Linked DNA regions of Homo sapiens: all the other regions are linked to region 3. The links are contacts of gene promoters, found by promoter capture Hi-C in human tissues and cell types (Jung and others, 2019). All regions are on one chromosome and are shown on one strand. The core of a region is centred on a gene start or on the middle of the fragment in contact, and the rest is flanking DNA. Distances in the headings are between cores, read along the strand shown.

Region 1 (3,380 bases), core at 428-2,927, 92 kb before region 3:
TCACCTCTCCTTTTTTTTTTTTGAGAGAGAGTCTCACTGTGTTGCCCAGGTTGGAGTGCAGTGGGGTGATCTCGACTCACTGCAACCTCCATCTCCTGGGCTCAAGTAATTCTCCCACCTCAGCCCCTGAGTTCCTGGGACCACAGGCGCACGCCACCATGCCCAGCTAATTTTGGTATTTTTTGTAGAGACAGGGTTTTCCTATGTTCCTTAGGCTGGTCTCGACTTCTGTACTCAAGCTGTCTGCCCACCTTGGCCTCCCAAAGTGCTGGGATTACAGGTATGAGCCACTGCACCTGGCCCATCTCTACTTTTTAAATTAAACATTTTATTTCGAAAAACAAAATTCAAGAATACAGAAGAATTGCAAGATAATTATAATAAAACTTCATATATACCTTAATTAGGTTTATTTATTTACTGTTAACATTTTGCCACATTTGCCTTGTCTCTCTCTCCCTCTCTGCTATTTCAGAGATAAGATCCTCATTATTTCTTATTCTTTTTCTTTTTTTGAGACACAGTCTCACTGTGTTGCCTGGTCTGGAGTGCAGTAGGTATTCACAGCAAGATCATAGTGCACTGTAGCCTCCAACTCCTGGATTCAATCAATCCTCCTACCTCAGCCTCCCAAGTAGCTGGGGCTACAGATGTGTGCCACTGCACCTGGCTATTTCTTATTCTCATTTTTTTGGTACCATTTCAGAGTAAATTTTAGAGATTATGACCCTTCAGTCCTGAGTACTTTATCATGTATCTACTAAAAATGATCAAATTCAGGAAATGTAATTGATACAACACAATCAATTGTATCAATACAATTCATATCCAAATTTTATGAACTTGAATCATCAAATGTTATTAATAATCCATATTCAAACATTGACACAGTTTACAATCCATATTTAAATTTTGTCAATTGTCCCAATATTGTTCTTTCTAGAAACTCTTCTCCAATCCAAAATGCTATCCAGGATAAAGCATTGGATTTAGATGTCGTATCTGTTTAGTTTTCTCTAATTTGGAACAGTTCCTTAGCGTTTCATTTTCTCTTATGGTATTGACATTTTTAAAGAGTATTGGCCCATTGTATTGTGGAATGTCCTTTAATTTAGGCTAGCCTGACTGTTTCTTCATGATTACATTTAATTATGCATTTTTGGTAGGTATGCTACATAAGTCATGTTGTGTTCTTTTTGGTGCATCATATCAGGAGGCACCTGCCTTTACTTAGTTCCTCTTTTTTTTTTTTTTTTTTTTTTTTTTGGGAATGGAGCCATCACTTAACTTAAAATCAGAGCAGAGTTTTAAGCCCAGGTCCATGAGACTCTATTTTTTTTTCTTCTTTTGAGACAGGGTCTTGCTGTTACTGAGGCTAGAGTGCAGTGACACAATCACAGCTGACTGCAGCCTTGACTACCTGGGCTCAAGCGATCCCCCCATCTCAGCCCTGCAAGTAGCTGGGACTAGAGGCATGTGCCACCACACCTGACTAACTTTTAAATTTTTTGTAGAGACGGGGTCTCCCTATGCTGTCAAGACTGGTCTTGAACTCCTGGGCTCAAGTGATCCTCCCACCTCAGCCTCCCAAAATGCTGGGATTACAGGCATGAGCCACTGTGGCTGGCCTCCATGACACTCTAGAGCCCATATTTTCACCCACCCACACCTCTGTGGTTAGACATGGTCTCAGTTATTACAGGGGGTGAGTTGGAGGCTCCCATGGCCTTTCTAAATCTCAGTATGATCTCTTAGTAGCTAAGTCCTCAGTGATGCTCTGTTCTTTCAATCTATGTTTTAGTTCTACACAGAGAAAGTCTGTTTGGTTATTGATAGTTCCAAAATAAATGTCTTATCTTCAAGAATCAAAAGCATGATAAACAAGATCTCCTGCCATTCTGTGGCTGACCTTTGTAGCCACTGCTGAGCCTGATCGTGGGTAAGAGGAGAGCAGTTGGCTGCCAGCCCTTGGCATATGAAATTAAAGGGAACCATTGCTCATCCAAAGCAGGTAACTGTATGTTCTGCCTATCAAGTCAAGAGGAATGCAGATAAGAGTTTTTTCTCTTCACCAATGAGAGTAGACCACACATTAAAAGGTTTTGTTGTTGTTGTTGTTTTGTTTGTTTGTTTGTTTTTGAGATGGAGTCTTGCTCTGTTGCCCAGGCTGGAGTACAGTGGTGTGAACTCAGCTCACTTCCACCATCCACCTCCCGGGTTCAAGCAATTCTCCTGCCTCAGCCTCCCAAGTAGCTGGATTTGCAGGTGTGTGCCACCATGCCTGGCTAATTGTTTTATTGTTGTAGAGACAGGGTTTCACCATATTTGCTGGGTTGGTCTTGAACTCCTGACCACAAGTGATCCTCCCGCCTCAGACTCCCAATGTGCTGGGATTACAGGTGTGAGCCACCGCACCCAGCCCACATATTAAAAGTTTTTAGAAGCTCACCGAAATCCCTGTCTGTTGCCAGCAGGTGATTAAGAATGTTGATGCAGGCTTATAGAGCAGAACACTGTCCTTGGAACTGTGTCAAGATATGGAAATGGAAAAGACCCTTATTCCTTGGACCCTAATTCCGTTTTCTAAGGGAAAATGCAGAACTGCCATCAGTAAAATGACATGGAAACATAAATTTCAAATGTACTGTTGTTATGGTTTGAATTGTGCCCCCACAAAATTCATATGTTGAAGTCTTAATTCCTAATACCTGTGTATGTGACCTTATTTGGAAATAAAGTCATTGCCGATGTAATTAGTTAAGACGAAATCATACTGGAGTAAGGTTGGTCCTAATCCAATGACTGGTGTTCTCCTAAGAAGAGAAAACAGGCACATAGACACACAGGGGAAAGCCCATGTGAAGAAAGTCAGCACGCAGAGAGAAACGCTGTGGGATCATGAAGATGGAGATAGGGCTGACAGGTCTACAAGCCAGGAAGAGAGGCCTGAAGCAAATTTTTCCCACAACTCCTAGAAGGATTCAACCCTGCCACCACCTTCATTTCTGACTTCCAGCCTCCAGAACTGTTAGGCAATAAATTTCTGTTGTTTAAGTCTCCCAGTTTGAGTAGTTTGTGACGGCAGGCCTAGGAAGTGAATACAAATACCTTTTTGGAAGACCCAAGGTACAATGAAGACAGTGCAGCAGAGCAGTCAGGAGTCCTGGGTTTCAATCCCAGCCTTGCCCCAATTCTGCTGTGTGGCTATGCCGACCTGAATGAATCTATCAGGCTTCAGCTGCAGAATTCACTGGTTGAAGTAAACTTTTTAGGTACAAGAATGATTTTTATAGACTGTGATTTTATGTTTCCACTTTCAGATGTAAGTCCTTTCCTTTGCCTCTCTCATCAAAGAACACTATGATGTCCTATCAAATTAG
Region 2 (3,255 bases), core at 417-2,916, 85 kb after region 3:
CTGAGTAGAATAATGAAATCCAAATCCTTCCCCTGGCATTGAAGTTTTTCCATGGTCTGAACTCAGTTTACCCTTCTTGGCTCCAAGTCCTCAGAGCGCTGTTTGCACTGTCAGAGTAGTGTGGTGCTGTTCACCAGCTTGGAAGGTTGAGAGAAGTAGCCTGAAATCTGTTCAGAAGCAGAAAAACACTGCAATTCTATTATGATGATGGTGGAGTCACATTTTTAAATGTGCTTCTAAGTAGCTGGCATTCAATTGTTCTTAGAATGGGAACTATCTTTGGAAAAAATACATTGATAAGGTATTTGAGATTCTAAGGCCAGGGTCTTAAAAGATAATGGCAAAACTTCCTGGCATGACATGGGAAAGGAATTTGTTAGGCTCTCAAGAGGGAGAAAAATAAGAAGCAAGGAGGGAGAGGGGGCTGGGCGTGGTAGCTCATGCCTGTAATTCCAGCACTTTGGGAGCCCAAGTCAGGCAGATCACCTGAGGTCAGGAGTTCGAGACCAGCTTGGCCAACCTGGCGAAACCCTGTCTCCACTAAAAATACAAAAATTAGCTGGGTGTGGTGGTGCACACCTGTAATCCCAGCTACTCAGGAGGCTGAGGTAGAAGAATCACTTGAACCCGGGAGGCAGAGGTTGCAGTGAGCCGAGATAGCACCATTGCACTCCAACCTGGGCCACAGAGCAAGACCCCGTCTCAAAAAAAAAAAAAAAAAAAGAAAAGAAAAGGAGGGAGAGGGAAGAGAGAAGAGCCTGCAGGATGAAGATAGGTTTGAATCAGGTGAGCCTGCTAGGCCCTCCTGTCTCCTCACCACCCCAGCCCATCTTCAGTCTGCTAAACTCACAAATATTTGGTGCTTGTGTGTGTGGGTGTGTGTGCAGGGTAGAGTGAACGTGGAAGGAGGGGGTGAACACCTGCAGAGGGGGCCATGGAACCCTCTGCCCCAGAGAATGCACAGGATTGTGAGGAAAGCTTTGGAGTGCTGTGGGCTGTCAAATTTGAGGCATTCAAGCCAATTTTACTGAGTCTGGATGAGCAGATGGTTCCATTTTTTATTGTTACTGTCGTTGTTGTCACAAAAAATTACCCCTCAAAAAGATACTCCCTCCTGGGAAAGGCACAGAAGAAAGAAGAACAGAATCTTGTTGCAAAAAATATATATATCCTTCAGAAATGCTTGCTTGGCAAAAATACATCTTTCCTTTCTTTTTCGCTGTTAACCATTATGTGGAACCAGGCCCTAGAAAATGTCAGGCTCTGGCCAGGCATGGTGGCTGTCACCTATAATCCCAGCACTTTGGGAGGTCAAGGCAGGAGGATTGCTTGAGTCCAGGAGTTTGAGACCAGCCCGGGCAGCATAGTGACACCCTATCTCTACAAAAATAGAAAAAAATTACCCAGATGTGGTGGTGTGCACCTGCAGTTTCAGCTACTTGGGAGGCTGAGGTGGGAGGATTGCTTGAGTGAGCTGGGGAGGTTGAGGCTGCAGTGAGCCCTGAATGTACCACTGCACTCCAGCCTGAGCAACAGAGTGAGAACTTGTCTCAAAAAATAAATAAATAAATAAATAAATAAATAAATAAATAAAGTCAGGCTCTGAATAAATAGATAAAGATGTCCAGTAACCATATTTTAGAAGCTCAGCCTCACTACTATCACTACTAATCCAAGAAATGCCAATTAAGACAATAATACATGATACCATTCTTTGCCAATGAGGACCGAGGAACAGCTGAATCAATAAGGGAATCATGGGTCCCTGTACAGTGGAGAGAAAGAATGCCCCATGTTCACCTGCTGCAGGCCTCACAGAGCAGGCCATCAGGACCAGCTGGGACTGGGTGACAGGTGTCCCCACCTTGGGTGGTCCAGCATCCAGGAAGAAACAGTCAATCCTCCTACACACCCAGGAACCAGAGGGCAGACCTGGGGAGCCAGGCCTGGGACAGGTAAGCATTCACAGAAAGGGACCATTGTAACCTGAAAGGGGACCACCTATATTAATTTTTAAATTTTCATAATACTTTATATATAAATCACATACAGTAAAATGCACAAAGCTTAAGTGGGCTGCTCACATGTGTAGACCTATGTGACCACCTGGATCAAGATATAGGTACTTCTGTCACCCCTGAAAGTTTCCGCATTCTTTTGAGTTCTGTCACCACAGACTATATTTGTCTATTCTTGAGTTCCGTATAAATGGAACCATATGGTAGGAGATGTTTTTAGTCTGGTTTCTTTTATTCATTACACCTTTTTGAGATTTGTCCATGGCCCTACATGTCTGTCTCATTAGTCCATTTGTCCTGATGAGAAATATTCTATTGCATGGATATACCACGATGTGTTTATTCATTATCCTGATGATGGGCATTTGGGTTGCTTACTGTTTCAGTCTACCATGTATAAAGCTGCTTGCATGAATCTTTGTGTGAATGTGTGGTTTCATTTCTCATCCACTCTCATACCTGAGAGTGGATTTACCGGGTCACAGAATAGGTGTCTGTGTTACTGCTGTGTGAGGTCTTGCCTCACTGACAACCAAGCAAGCTGTTCTGCAGTGGACATCAGCTGGGTGTCCTCTAACTCAATTCTGACACTGTCTACCTGGAGATAGCCTCAGACCCCACAGGTCAGTATCGCAAGACTTTAGATGCCCTCCCACTTTAGATGCCAATCACAACCTGTGCCTCTGGCCAGCTATGAATTGGGGTTTCCACAACCCCCTCCTTGGGTTCAATTAATTTGCTAGAGCAGTTCATAGAACTCCGGAAACACTTTAGTTATGTTTACCAGTTTATTATACAGGCTGTTACGAAGAATGCAGATGAACAGCATTCGTGGAAAAGATGCACGGAGCGAGGCCTGTGGGGAGGGGAGCAGAGCTTCCATGCCCTCCCTGCATGCACCACCCTCCAGGAACCTCCACATGTTCAGCTGTCTGGAAGCTCTTCCGAACCCTGTCCATTTGAACTGTTATGGAGGCTTCATTACATAGGTATGATGGATTACATCATTGGCCTCAGTGATTAACTCAATCTCCAGCCCTTCTGCCCTCCACCAGGGTGGTCAGGGAGGCAGGGCTGGGAGTTCCTTTTTTTTTTTTTTTTTTTTTTTTTTTTGAGAGAGACAGAGTCTTGCTATATTGTCCAGACTTGAGTGCAGTGGCTCAATCATAGTTTACTGCAACCTCAAACTCCCGGGTTCAAGTGATCCTCCTGCCTCAGCCTCCTGAGTAGCTGGGAC
Region 3 (3,446 bases), core at 389-2,888:
GGAGGGAGACATTCTGTCACTTTTTAAATAAGTGGTAGCACCGGTGATTATTTTTCCATCTGGTTAACCAAATGCAATTTTTGCCCATGCAAAAAACGAATGTACAACCCCTTGCTTCAATCCACCGGTTCATCCCTGGGCCGATGCATGGAGAAATAAAAAAAAACTCTTGCCCTTGAGGACTAAGAGAGGGCAACTAGTCCATTTTCCCAGCCAGAACCTGCCTTGCTTTTGGAAAGACTCCGCCGTTCCTTTAAGGAACCAGGCCGAAGGCGGGAAGGGAGAGGTGACGGGGCCATCGGGACTGCTAAAACTGTATCCAGAGCGTACCCAGGCGGCCCAGGGACCCGGGCGGGCGCGGGGGATACGGCGGGAAAGGAATGCAAGAGCTGCGGCTTCACCTGCGACAGAGAACCTGGCGGCTCCTGCAACCTCCTCCTCCTCCTGCGCCGCCTGCGCTTGGCGCTGCAAACCGCTGCAAAAGCCACTGCTGGGAACGCGGCGCAACCCAGAGCCCGCTCTTTAAGCGCGGCTGTTAGCACCCCGGGAGGCAGCGTAGGGATGGGGTTGAGATGGAATGAAGGTAATACTTTGTCTTGAGCCAGGGGCAACTAGGATGCACAAACCCCCTCTGCAAACAGCCAGTGTACACACCCTGCAAGGAAGGCGCGCCACAGGCTGCAAAGGGAGACACAGGTTCCTCCAGCAGCAGTGGGCCATGGGCACCGAGCGGGGACACGGGGACGCTGTAGTGGCTCTGGGGCCTCACCCTGCACTTGCGTCCGTCCACGGTCTCCTCCTCAAAGCCTTCTCCGACCTTGAAGTTGATCTCAGTGGTGCGCACCGTGGTGGATGTCTTGATGTAGAACTGATCCCCGTCCTGGCGGATCTCCACGTGCGGCTTGGACGCAGCCGCTACGGCCACTTTCCTCAGCATGGCGTTCACACCTGCGCAGGGTGCACCACAGGCTTGGGTCACGGGGCCTCGCCGCCAGTCTCGGGACCGGTCGGGCACTGGTCATACCCTAACTTTAGAAAGGGGCCTTAAAATTGATCCACTCGTTTCCCTGCCCTCGCCCTTGTTTTCGAGATGAGAGACTGAGGCACAGAGAGGGTAAGTGACTTTCCTCGAGTTGCACAGTGAATTCGTGGCAGAGCCTGGTCCCAAATTTGAGTCTCCAAATTTAAGTCCCTGATCCTCCTTGCTCTCCAGTAATCTCTCCTCGCTATGATCTAGCACGAGATAAAGTCCGCACCATCGAGGAGGGCGCCAAACATTCAGCAAACGTTCGCTGAACGCGTGGGTTCCGGGATCTCTACCAGCTTCTCCGAGACCCGGTGCGCCTGGGAGACAAGGCGATCTATTGCCCCGGGGACTCCCTCCTGCCTGGGCTCCCCAACTTCCACCCCCTCCAGGACCGGGGCACTTCCGGGACCAGGGCACCTCCGGGCCGCATCTCCCCGTCGGGGCGCGCCCTCTGCACCAGCTTACCCAGTGCCTTGAGCAGCTCGTCGAAATTCTCGCTGCTGCGCATCTTCCAGGTGCCGGCGAAGTTGGGCATGGTGGCGGTGGCGGCGGCGGCAGGTACGGACAGCGGCGGCGCAGCGGGCACACTCTGAGCTCGCAAGGCGGAGACTGGCGCTTTGCGCCCAGCGCTGCGCGCCTTGAGTCACTAGGAGAGCGCCCCCAACCCCGCCGGGCTTCTGGCCCCGCCCCGCCGGCCCTGCCCCCGCTCCCCCGCAGCCCCTACTCGGTATGCGCTCAACTCCCAGCCCAGTTGTGCCTCAGCCTCCAGAGGTGCGGGCACCCGCTCTCCAACTGGGGAGCCTCCACCTCCCTCAGGACACCCACATCCCGCTTTAAAATGGGTGGTGGGAGAGGGTTAGCTGAAACAAGATGGGCTTGGAGGGGATAACTGTTGAAGCTGGGCGGTGTGGACTTGGGTTATGATTCTACTTTTCTCTCTACTTTTGAATATGTTTGAAAATATCCATAACATAAACTTAAAGTGGATAGCGAGCGGGGCCATCAGGGGATGGGACCCACTCTTTTTTCACCTCCGGTCGTACCTACTGGGTGTGCCCAGATGGTGTCCCTTCCCTCCCAGTCCGGGATCCTATTCTGAAACCCTCTCCCCGCATCCCCACGCCCCCCACAGGACCCATGGGGAGTGAGTGGCAGGAAACCGCAACCCCCATCAACACCAGCTTGGGCACTGAGGCGCGAATCCACGAGCTGCGGGTCCTCCGCGTTCCGAGTGCAGGAGGGGGCCAGACCTTTGTCAGGGCTCAGGACAAACTGTGGGTCGAGAGGCATGGACTGAATCAGCTCCAGAATCTGGGCTAGGTGCGGCCTGTTTTGCAAAAGCGTGAGGCTTTGCACTCTTCGGGCAGGCTGTGAGGGCCAAGGGGAGGAAGTCTTCTCCCTTTGCTCCCAAATAACCTAAACATCACGACCTAAAGTCCCCTCGGTGTTTCCACTAAGGGAGTACAAACACTTCACTATTACCCTTGTAGCTCTTCTCTGTACATTTTCCTTCCAGCTTTTTCCCACTATTTTACCATCTGCACACCTCAGCCAAACTGTACAATTCAGGATTCTAGAACGTGCCATGCATTTTATTATCTCTAAGTTTTTGCCCATGCCATGGCTTCTTCCTTGAATGCCCCTTTCCTCATCGGGTTAATCAAATCTTGCCCATTCACGAAAGCCCATCTTTATGCTCTCTCTTTTGTGAAATTCAGTTTCCTAATAAACTGTGATTATTTTTCTCTGAATTGACAGGATTCTTGTCCGGTCCTGCTCTTGTTCAAGTCTTCGCTCTGCTATAAACTGAACTCCTGGAGGGCAGTGATCGTTTATCCACTTGTCCTCCCTTCCTAAGGCTTAGCCAGGTGGGGCTCGATAACTGTGCATTGATTTGAGGAGGATGTGAGTGGTGGCCTGGGGTGAAGATTCCCCCAGGACCTTGGGGAATCTGTGCTGAGTGCCTACTGAACAGGGCCCTGGAAACTTCTGGAGGTGGCTGGGGCTGGGTTGCTGCCAGGAGGCTCCGAGGATCTGTCTAAGAAAGCAGCTGAGGACAGGAGAGGGGAGTGGGGCCATCACCAGCTGGAAAGGGGCATGGGCAGGGCCGGCATTCTGGACGTGCCGTCTGTGCAGTCACACAGGGCCATGCACTTAGAAGGGCCTGATAGTTAGATTGGAAAATGGAAAAGCAGGAATGCTCTGCTATTGCCAGCTTGAACGTCAGAATACTTTTTGTTTGTTTGTTTGTTTTGAGACAGAGTCTCGCTCTGTTGCCCGAGCTGGAGTGCAGTGGCGCAATCTTGGCTCACTGCAACCTCTGCCTCCTGGGTTTAAATGATTCTCCTGGCTCAGCCTCCCAAGTAGCTGGGACTACAGGTGTGTGCTACTATGCCCAGCTAATTTTTTGTATTTTTAG

Evidence for each region. Contacts are between HindIII fragments. The study calls those that stand out against the background at their distance.
Region 1: a fragment that was not itself captured here is called in contact with the fragment with the promoter of CRABP1 in region 3 in 3 of the 25 tissues and cell types used here (dorsolateral prefrontal cortex, lymphoblastoid cells and neural progenitor cells).
Region 2: a contact is called between a fragment that was not itself captured here and the fragment with the promoter of CRABP1 in region 3, in 3 of the 25 tissues and cell types used here (IMR-90 fibroblasts, dorsolateral prefrontal cortex and lymphoblastoid cells).

Annotation. Positions count from the first base shown.
Region 1 is chr15:78,430,683-78,434,062 of GRCh38, reverse strand. No RefSeq gene overlaps it. Among named protein-coding and RNA genes, the nearest start is that of IREB2, 5.8 kb to the left of the region's middle. The HindIII fragment of the contact is 5,689 bases long and covers 1-3,380 here.
Region 2 is chr15:78,254,170-78,257,424 of GRCh38, reverse strand. DNAJA4-DT (DNAJA4 divergent transcript) reads left to right here. Exons shown (of 4, transcript XR_001751621.1): 4 at 2,818-2,982. Among named protein-coding and RNA genes, the nearest start is that of DNAJA4-DT, 8.3 kb to the left of the region's middle. The HindIII fragment of the contact is 4,200 bases long and covers 1-3,255 here.
Region 3 is chr15:78,338,545-78,341,990 of GRCh38, reverse strand. It overlaps CRABP1 (cellular retinoic acid binding protein 1), which reads right to left and starts at 1,638. Exons shown (of 4, transcript NM_004378.3): 1 at 1,493-1,638; 2 at 770-948. The coding sequence starts at 1,562. RefSeq lists an enhancer at 1,460-2,088. The HindIII fragment of the contact is 13,960 bases long and covers 1-3,446 here.